Linked DNA regions of Homo sapiens: regions 1 and 2 are each linked to region 3. The links are contacts of gene promoters, found by promoter capture Hi-C in blood cells and fetal thymus (Javierre and others, 2016). All regions are on one chromosome and are shown on one strand. Each heading gives the region's core, a stretch centred on a gene start or on the middle of the fragment in contact. The rest is flanking DNA. Distances are from core to core; before and after follow the strand shown.

Region 1 (2,888 bases), core at 225-2,724, 150 kb after region 3:
CTCCCTTGAACTTATTTATGAACAGATTCTTTTACTCACATGTTTTCCTGCTGACCTTCTCCCCATCATCATCCTGTTCACCCTGTTCTCCTGCCACACTCCCTTTGCCGAGATAATGAAAATAGTAATCAATACATACTGAGGAAACTCAGAGACCAGCACCGGTGCAGGTCTTCGCATACTGAGTGTGCTGGTCCCCTGGGCCCACTGTTCTTTCTCTATACTTTGTCTCTGTGTCTTCTTTTCTCAGTCTCTCGTCCTACCTGACGAGAAATACCCACAGGTGTGGAGGGGCAGGCCCCCTTCAGGTCCCTGAGGACCCAGATTGTTTTCTGCCACTGTCTAGAGGAGAGAAGGGCTTGTAAACAAAAGCACTGTAGTATGCAGGCATAAAGAACCTTACTCGGCTTGGGGGTGTCAGGGAGGACTTCTCAGATGAGGAAATGCAAGGGCTGGCCCTTCAATGACACACAGGAGTTCAGCCAAGAGGTGAAGTGGGCAGGGAATTGCAGGCAGAGGGATTGCAGTCCTACTGGATGAAGCGGCCTGGGGAGAAGATGGGTATGGCGTGAACTGTGTGTGTGCACGCGTGTGTGTGCATGTGTATGTGTATGTGGCGGGGAGGTGGTGGCAGATGACAGCATATGTGTGCCGTCATCACCTGGTGGTGAGTAGAGCCATTGAATGGTTTTGCATGGAGATGCAACAAGAAGGCTACTGGGTCTTCTGTCTTGTGGAAGACGCTGCCGCTTGCTGGTTCTCAGCATATAAAGAGACCCAGGTGCACAGGCTTTAGGCTAAGGGGCCAAGGAGCCCCTCCCACCACCCTGGCCTGGGCCAAGAAGCAGGGTGGGTTCCTTGGAAGCTCCAGAGCAGGCCCTGGTCAGAGCTGGGAAACTCTGGAGGGCTCTGAGGAAAAGAGCTCTGTGTTCATGGATGACCATGCAGGGGGTAGGGCAGGGCCCTGGCATTCAGAGGTGAATGGGTGCCGCCTCACCTTTAGAACCAGACCCCAGAGCAGGGTCCAGCCAGCACCTCTTGCTGGTGGACTGCATGGATGAGGCAGCCTCAATGTCAATCAGGGGCTGATTGACAACTCTTCTTCCCAGGCCGCTTCATCCAGTAGGACTGCAATCCCTCTGCCTGCAATTCCCTGCCCACTTCACCCCTTGGCTGAACTCCTGTGTGTCCTTTAAGGGCCAGCCCTTGCATTCCCTGAGTCATGGTGGTCCTGTCCAGGGGCTGACACCTGGCCCTGGGGCTGCTGGGGAATCACAGAGACAGCTCCCATCCCTGCCCCTGCTTTCCCCAGCCCTGGCACAGGGGTAAGTGGCTTCTACGAGCCAGGTGGAGACATAAACAAGAGAGATGATGTCCCTCCCTCGCAACTAACCTGCCAAGGTAGAAGAAACAAATGTATCTGAAGATAATCAAGGTCCTGACAAGTGACAAGAGAGAAATAGAGTGAAGTGGATGATGGCATGGGGGTGGGAGGGTGTTTGGAAGCACGACGTCGGAGAAGGCTTCTCTGAGGAGGGGAGCTTCAAGCTAAGCCAGGGATGGGAAGGAGCCTGGGAGAGGGGGCCAGCAATGTGAAGGGCTTGCAGCTGAGAAGGAACGAGCTGGCGGAGAGGTGACCGAAATGGGGTGGACAGGGGCCAGAGCACACAGGGCTCCGTAGACCATGGCCAGGAGCCTGGTTTTTATTCCAAGGGCAGTTGGAAGACACGGAGGGGTTTTAAATGGAGGAGTGGCATGATTGGATTTATGTTCTAGTCACAACTCTGGCTGGGGTGGGGAGAATGGGCTGTGGGGGGAGTGGGGGCGGACTCAGGGAGACCACAAGCAGCTGCTGCAGAGAGGGTGGTGAGGCCTGGACATGGCAGGGCAGTGAGGATGGAGACTTAGGCTGCAGGTGGAACGGATGGGACATGCTATGGATTAGAATGGGGGTTGAGAGGGGAAAAAGGACCTATTAGGACTCAGGTTTTTGGCTTGGACAACTGGGAGGGTTATGGTGACATCTGGTGAGATGGGGAAACCGAAGAGAAGAGGGATTGGGAGGCAGGGGGATATGAAGAGTTACTGTTCCATTCTGGATGGCCTCAGTTTGAGAGGTGTTTTGGGCCTCTGGGTGGAAGTAGCAGGAAGGCAGGGGCAGGTGTGAGTCAGAAGCTCAGCAGAGCAGGATGACCACATGCAGGCATTCAGAAGCATGTGGAGAAAGATGATTCAATGATGCGGGGAACGTTTGCAGTGTAGAAGACAGTAGATACTTGGCAGCTGTAAATACACGAATAACATTCAGAGACCTAAGACTCACGAGACCACATGCGGGAAAGTGTATAGATAAAGAGAAGGGGGCTCACGACTCAACCCAGGCGCTCCAACATTAAGAGATTGGGAAGGATGAGGGGAGACTAAGGGGCTGCCAGTGAGCAGCAAGGAGAGCTGGGAAGAGAGTGTTTCAGGAAGGAGGGGTGGACACCTGGGCCAGGTGCTGCTGGGAGGTGGAGGAAAGGCTACCATCTGTGGGTTTGCAGTGGGGGCTGGAGCCAGCTGGGGACGGCTGAAGAGTGTGAGGGTGAGGAGGTGGGCTGTGAGTGAGTCGCCGAGTGTAGACAGTGGGCATGGGAGGCTTTGCTGGGGATGGGATGGTGGGCCAGGGATGACATACCAGAAACTTGTTCAGATGTGTTCAGGGTGGAAGACTTGGCATAATGGCTAGTGGGAACACACTACTGCAGAGACAGATGAGACAACAGAGATCCTGGGCGCATGGCAGGAGGGCGGTTTCTGTGGGAGGGCAGGGGAGAAGGTGGGCTTGTCTCTGGAGCCTCTGGTCACACCTGGGCTAGACTCTGCCATGCTGCCCACCCCTCCACCTG
Region 2 (2,700 bases), core at 178-2,677, 170 kb after region 3:
TCTGGCGTTTATTGCTCCTCCCAGCTCTGCCCTCTGCACACCCATCCTTCAGTGCCTGGGTGTGGCAGAAGAGATCTCCTCCCCCCAGCTCTCCTGCTCTTGACATCAGCAGGAAATTCACAGAGCTTTTACTCTGGATCCAAACAAACACTCATGTGTTCGTGCATCTAGCTGAGAGCCCAACCTGGGTCTGGGCTGGCCTGGGAGCCCTGGGGGATACAAAGGTCCTTGTCCTCAAGACACTCCCAGGTGGAGGGGAATAAGCCCTGTCTACCGCCAAGAGCAAGACCACTCAATACCCAACGGATGGTCCCCATGAGCCAATGGCGGCCGTGGAAACATAGAGACCCAGTTCTTCCTGCTGTGTGCTTAACTTTCATGGGCTCATGGGTGCTTCACCACTGCTCATTAAGGCCAGCTCTATTATGGTACTATTTCACATTTGAGGAGACTGAAGCTCAGAAAGTTGACTAAACTGTCTGAGATTGCTTAGCTGTCAGAGGCAGCACGTTGGTTTGACCCTGGGGTGGTTGACTGCAAGCCCGCTTAGTGCATGGCCATTTCAGGAGAAGGATGTGAGAACTGGCAGGGATAGGGGGTGGTCGCTGGGGCACATCCCCAGTGGGCATCTTCCTGGACTTTCTCCAGGATGGGGAGTGATTCCACACAGGCTGACATGGGGTGTGATGGGCCTGGCTGCTGGCATGTGGCTCCCCGGCAGTGCCCCCACCCTTTGCTGGTCTCTCACCCAGCCCTCTCTCTGGTCTCCGGTTCTGTGGCACGTGCCTCTCTTCTCCCAGTTTGTCCCTCCTCCTCCTCCTAGACAAAGGTAGCCTGATACTGTGAGTCAGGATGGATTGGGAGCCAGGGTCATTAACTCACCTGGGCCTGTCAAATGGGCGTAAGCACTGATTATCCTGCAGGGATCTGGTGGAACTCAAACCATTGAAGATTACAGAAGGAAACTGCTATAAATATTTAGAGGCATGAGTCATTCATTCATTCGGCAAGTATTTATTGAGCGCATACTCTGTGGCAGGCCCTGCTCTGAATTTTAGGGATATTGTCCTGAGGAAGACAGCCTTAGCTCCTGCCCGCATGGGGCTTACAGTCTAGAGTGGGGTGGGGGGCAGACATTCAGTAGCCATGCAGATGAACACATAGGTACAAAGCAAACTGTGTTCAACAAGATTGTCAACAGGGTTGGAGAAATGCGTCCACAGCCTTTCCTGAGTAAGTGGGATTTCAGCTGAAGGATGACAAGTCAGCCTGCACAGGGCAGGGCAGGGGCCCCCAGGGCGTGAGTGCAAAGCCCTCGAGTGGCGGACAAGCCAGAGGCTTGCGACAAGGCAGCATGAGCTGGGGCGGCGCGGGGGGAGGCTGGGGGCTGACTGGCCGGACTGGGCATGGCCTTGCAAAAGAGAGCTATTGAAGGATTTAGTTTAAGTGGCTTAACAAAAATAAACCTCTATCTCTTTGACCTGGGTCTCTAGAGCTTCTCCTGCCTCCTTTGCCCTCAGTGTCCATTCTGTGTGATGAGAAGTTGGGCTTGGGGGAGGTCTCAGCCCTCACCCCCTTCTCGGGCAGAAGGGCAGCTGATTGAAAGCAGATGTCTCGCCCTGGTGGGGCCCAGCCCGGCTCCCCAGTGCTGACCTCAGACCTGCACCGCTGGCATGTCCAGGCCGCAGACTCTCTGTCAGCAAAGCCGCATCCGTCCTGCAGAGAGACGATCACTGTGGTTGCCCACACCCCCAACCCAGCAATTTCCCTACCACGGTGAGAAACCTCCCGTATTCTGGGGCTGGGGCCCAGCCTCCTCCTTCCAATTGCCTGGGGGAGGGAGAGACACCAATTAGGTTCTTGGAAAGGAACTAGGTTAGAAGAGGTATCTGTCACCCCTGCCCAGTTCCTCGGCACACCTGCACCAGCACAGCGCCAAAGGAGGCCACCATTATCCTATTCAGCATGTCCTTGGCTCTGGGCTAAGTGCTTTATGTCTTCCCATTTAACCTTCACAAACAGCTCCATGAGGCCCAACCGTTAAGGCAGTGTGTGACTGAGGCTCAGAGAGGACACCTTGTCACACGGCTGGTAGGTGCAGAGCTGGGATCTGAGCCCAGGTCATCAGGTCTGAAGTCTGTGACCCCAGTGGTCCTCTGCAGGGGGCACTGGCTGTTGCTCCTGTGCCTCTCAGACACTCCATGTGCCTGTTGCACCTGAGGAAGCCCAGGTCAGCTCCAGGCTGCTCGTGCCTCCAGGGACCTGCGTCTTGGCATAGGGCAGCAACATGGGCCCAGAGAGTGCTGGTGCGGCCTCTAGGTGGTGGCCTGGGCTCTGGACATTGTCAAGGGCAGTATGCTTGCTGTTGAATCAGTTTGGACCATGCCCAGGGGTCTCTTCGCAGAGGGAGTTACCATTTTAATTTTTGCCTTTGAACACCCCTGGGAACCACCCCCCATGCACCTGCCCTTTTGGGGCTGCTACGTCCATGAGGCCTCTGCTCCCCGGCCCCCACCATGCACCTGGAGGCATTCAGCAGGCTCCACAGGTTTCCCAGAGATGCCTCTGGTGTCCTGCAGCAACCCTAGTGGCCACTTCCCTCACTACCCCTTACTCTCAGGCCACCCTAGAACAGTACTCTCTTTCCTCTGCTCCTACAAGGCTGCTCCCAGCCCATCTGCAGACCTATCTGCCTCACCC
Region 3 (2,743 bases), core at 188-2,687:
ATTGGTAAACTTGTTGGTGTGTTTCTTTTCTACCCATGTATATCACATAAGTAGGACCATACTGTGTATAGTGTTTTGCATCCATTCTTTTACCTAACTTTATATTGTAAACATTTCCACATCATTAAACATTTCTCCAAGAACAATTTTTAATGGCTGTATTTCATGGTATGAATATTACATAAACATTCCCCTATTGTTCGACCTTTAAAGTATCTAACTTTTCTATGCAATACACATTGTGGTGCTGAACAACTTTTTGCATACATATTTTTCTGGCAGCTCTTTTTAGAAAAACAACTTCCAGAAAGTTGATTACTGGGTCAAATAATAAGAACCTTTTTGAAAATTTTGATTCTATATTACCAGATGGCTTTCAGAAAGATTATATCAGTGTTCAAGGCCACCAGTAATGTGTTTGTGCACATGTACGTGTGTGTGTGTCTCCCATCTCACTAACTATACCCTTGCCAACCTGCATTAGCGTTTATTTTTTGGTTTTTTGTTTTTTAGTCTTTGCTATTTTGATTAGGTAAACCTGGTTATCTCTGTTCTCTTTTTAGTTTTATGGATTCTGTGTGAGGTGAAGAGGCCAAGTTTTTTTTAAGTTTGTTCAGGGAACAGTAGCCAGGGATCAATGGAAGTGGCACCAGATGCAGGTGGAGAAAAGGGTTCAGGGTCCAGAATCCAGCGTGGGGAGAGAAGAGGGAGGCAGAGTTTGGGAAGGATCTCTGCTGTGGGAGTGGTAAGAACTGGGAGGAGCCAGACAAACAGCATTAGAACAACTGGGTGTGGGGGGCAAAGGCCTCCCACAAGAGGGAAAATAGGGAAGAGATTAATTCCTGCTAATGCATTTAATTATATTCAGTGAAGTCTTAGGGACTTCCCTCCACAAGTTCCCTTTAGGTCGGATTATCTACCCCTTGGCAGTGGGGATGCTTGTTGGATAGACCCCAGAACGGCTGCAAGTGAATCAACCTGTGAGTGTCAATAGAGAACCAAGGCCAAGGCTAAAGCAATGGTAATACATGAATACTGAGTACTAACTACAGGCCAGGCACAGTTCTAAGCAGTTAACTTATATTAACTCATTTATCTTAACCACCATATAAAGCAGGTACTCTTACACTCATTTTACAGACGAAATAGAAGCACAGAGAAGTTAGGTAACTTGCCCAGTATCAGTCAGGAAGTAGGTGAAATCTGGATTTGAACCCAGACATTCTGGCTAGAGTTAAAGCTCTTAACCACCAAATACAGAAATGTGGGAAGGGGAGCCAGAATTGCAGGGCACAGCCTCCTACCTACGCCGGCCGGAAGAAAACAGACGACCAAGTGAGATTGCAGGGGCAGGACTTCTGCTTAAAATGAATCCTGGGACAATGATAACAGCTACCTTTCACTGGGCCCTCACTTCGTGCCAGGCACTGTGTAAAGGGACTTTACGTTTAATCTTCACAGTAACCCCTTTGAGTGAGGTACTGTCATTACCCCATCTTACTGATGAGGAAGCTGACGCACGGAACTGGCCCAAGACCCAGGGTCGGCTCAGGCCAGCCCTACCGCGGTGTGGTGGCTGCCCACGTGGCGCCCAGGAAGAGAAAAAAATGGCGAGGCGGGGTCGGCAGGCGGAGGCGGGGCCAGGCGGGGGCGGGGCCAAGGGCCGCAGAGCCTGGCGCGGAGCCGGCGAGATTTTGGTGGGGTCTCACCTGTTGCGTGACTCCCCCACAGTCCGGCCGCGGGAGTCCGACCCTGAATGCCCAGGGAGTGTTGAGAGAAATCTGGACGAGTTTCGGGTCCCGCTCCCTTGGGAGCACGTGGCCTACCAGCCTCTCGATTGCAGGGTTGGGTGGTCGCGACACCGGGGTCGCCTTGAGGCCAGTCCGGCTGCCGAGGTCTGCGGGAGTCCACCTCCGGCCAGCTGGCAATTTTGAAAGACTGCCTTACTTTCCCCATCTCAGTGCCAGGGCAGGGGCCCTTGGAGTGACTTGGCTGGGGTCTGTGGCCCGATCCCCCTGCCGTCCCTCAGGACCCGGGCTTTCTGCTGTACAGACTTCTCGTGGGCAGCCTCCCCTCGGAACTCGGGCATCATGGCCTCAGGTGAGTGTGTGTACGTGTGTTGGAGGGAGGGTCTCTGGGACAGAGAAGTGCTGTGGCCAGAGTGACAAGAGGGTGGGAGTCACAGCACAGCAGCAGGACCTAGGGAAGGCGGTCAGCTCCTCCCAGGAGGGCCTGGGGAGCAGAGCCAGAGTGTGCAGAGACAGAGGAAAAATCCAAAGAGGCTAGGGTCTCTGTCCCAGACCCCCAGACAAGGGGGTCTCCTGGCCTTCCTGCCTTCCTGGGAGGTAGCTATTTGGCGACGGTGGAATTTTCCCGGGACAGGCCCCTCCCTCCTGGGCTGGGATTCTCGGTTCTTCCCCCTCCTCCCAGAGCTGGGCTACCCCGGGAGCTGAGGGTCAGATGTGGAAGGAAAGTGGGTGCTGGGTTTTCACGGAGTATGCCTGCCCTGCCCCGGGAGGACTGTGTTTGAGCTTGGACTCGCTCGCTGCTGAATTCCTGTTTGTTATTCTTTTTTCTTCCAGGCTAGCTGGAAGGACCAGCTAGCCTGGACTTTGGCTTCTTTGCCCGGGAGCCCTGGCATGATGGGGTGAGGGCTCTTGGTGGGTTAGTGGAGAGCTGGGGGCTGGCCCTTCCCCATCTTCTTTTCTACCCACCCCCTCCCCGCCCCCCGCCAGGCCCAGCC

The links. Contacts are between HindIII fragments. The CHiCAGO score rates a contact against its expected background, and 5 or more counts as called.
Region 1: a contact is called between a fragment that was not itself captured here and the fragment with the promoter of GNAT2 in region 3, in 5 of 17 cell types (megakaryocytes, M0 macrophages, M2 macrophages and 2 more). The highest score is 9.4, in megakaryocytes.
Region 2: a fragment that was not itself captured here is called in contact with the fragment with the promoter of GNAT2 in region 3 in 1 of 17 cell types (megakaryocytes); the score reaches 5.4 in megakaryocytes.

The regions. Positions count from the first base shown.
Region 1 is chr1:109,767,308-109,770,195 of GRCh38, forward strand. The region is part of intron 1 of LOC124904258 (a long non-coding RNA gene); the gene reads left to right. Among named protein-coding and RNA genes, the nearest start is that of EPS8L3, 4.8 kb to the left of the region's middle. RefSeq lists an enhancer at 2,272-2,888. The HindIII fragment of the contact is 5,200 bases long and covers 1-2,888 here.
Region 2 is chr1:109,786,694-109,789,393 of GRCh38, forward strand. No RefSeq gene overlaps it. Among named protein-coding and RNA genes, the nearest start is that of EPS8L3, 24 kb to the left of the region's middle. RefSeq lists enhancers at 154-1,037, 1,038-1,921. The HindIII fragment of the contact is 4,535 bases long and covers 1-2,700 here.
Region 3 is chr1:109,618,179-109,620,921 of GRCh38, forward strand. It overlaps GNAT2 (G protein subunit alpha transducin 2), which reads right to left and starts at 1,438. Exons shown (of 9, transcript NM_001377295.2): 1 at 1,305-1,438. It overlaps AMPD2 (adenosine monophosphate deaminase 2), which reads left to right and starts at 1,659. Exons shown (of 19, transcript NM_001368809.2): 1 at 1,659-2,100; 2 at 2,736-2,743. RefSeq lists enhancers at 826-1,356, 1,337-1,386, 1,357-1,885, 2,407-2,456, 2,416-2,743 and a silencer at 1,577-1,766. The HindIII fragment of the contact is 17,616 bases long and covers 1-2,743 here.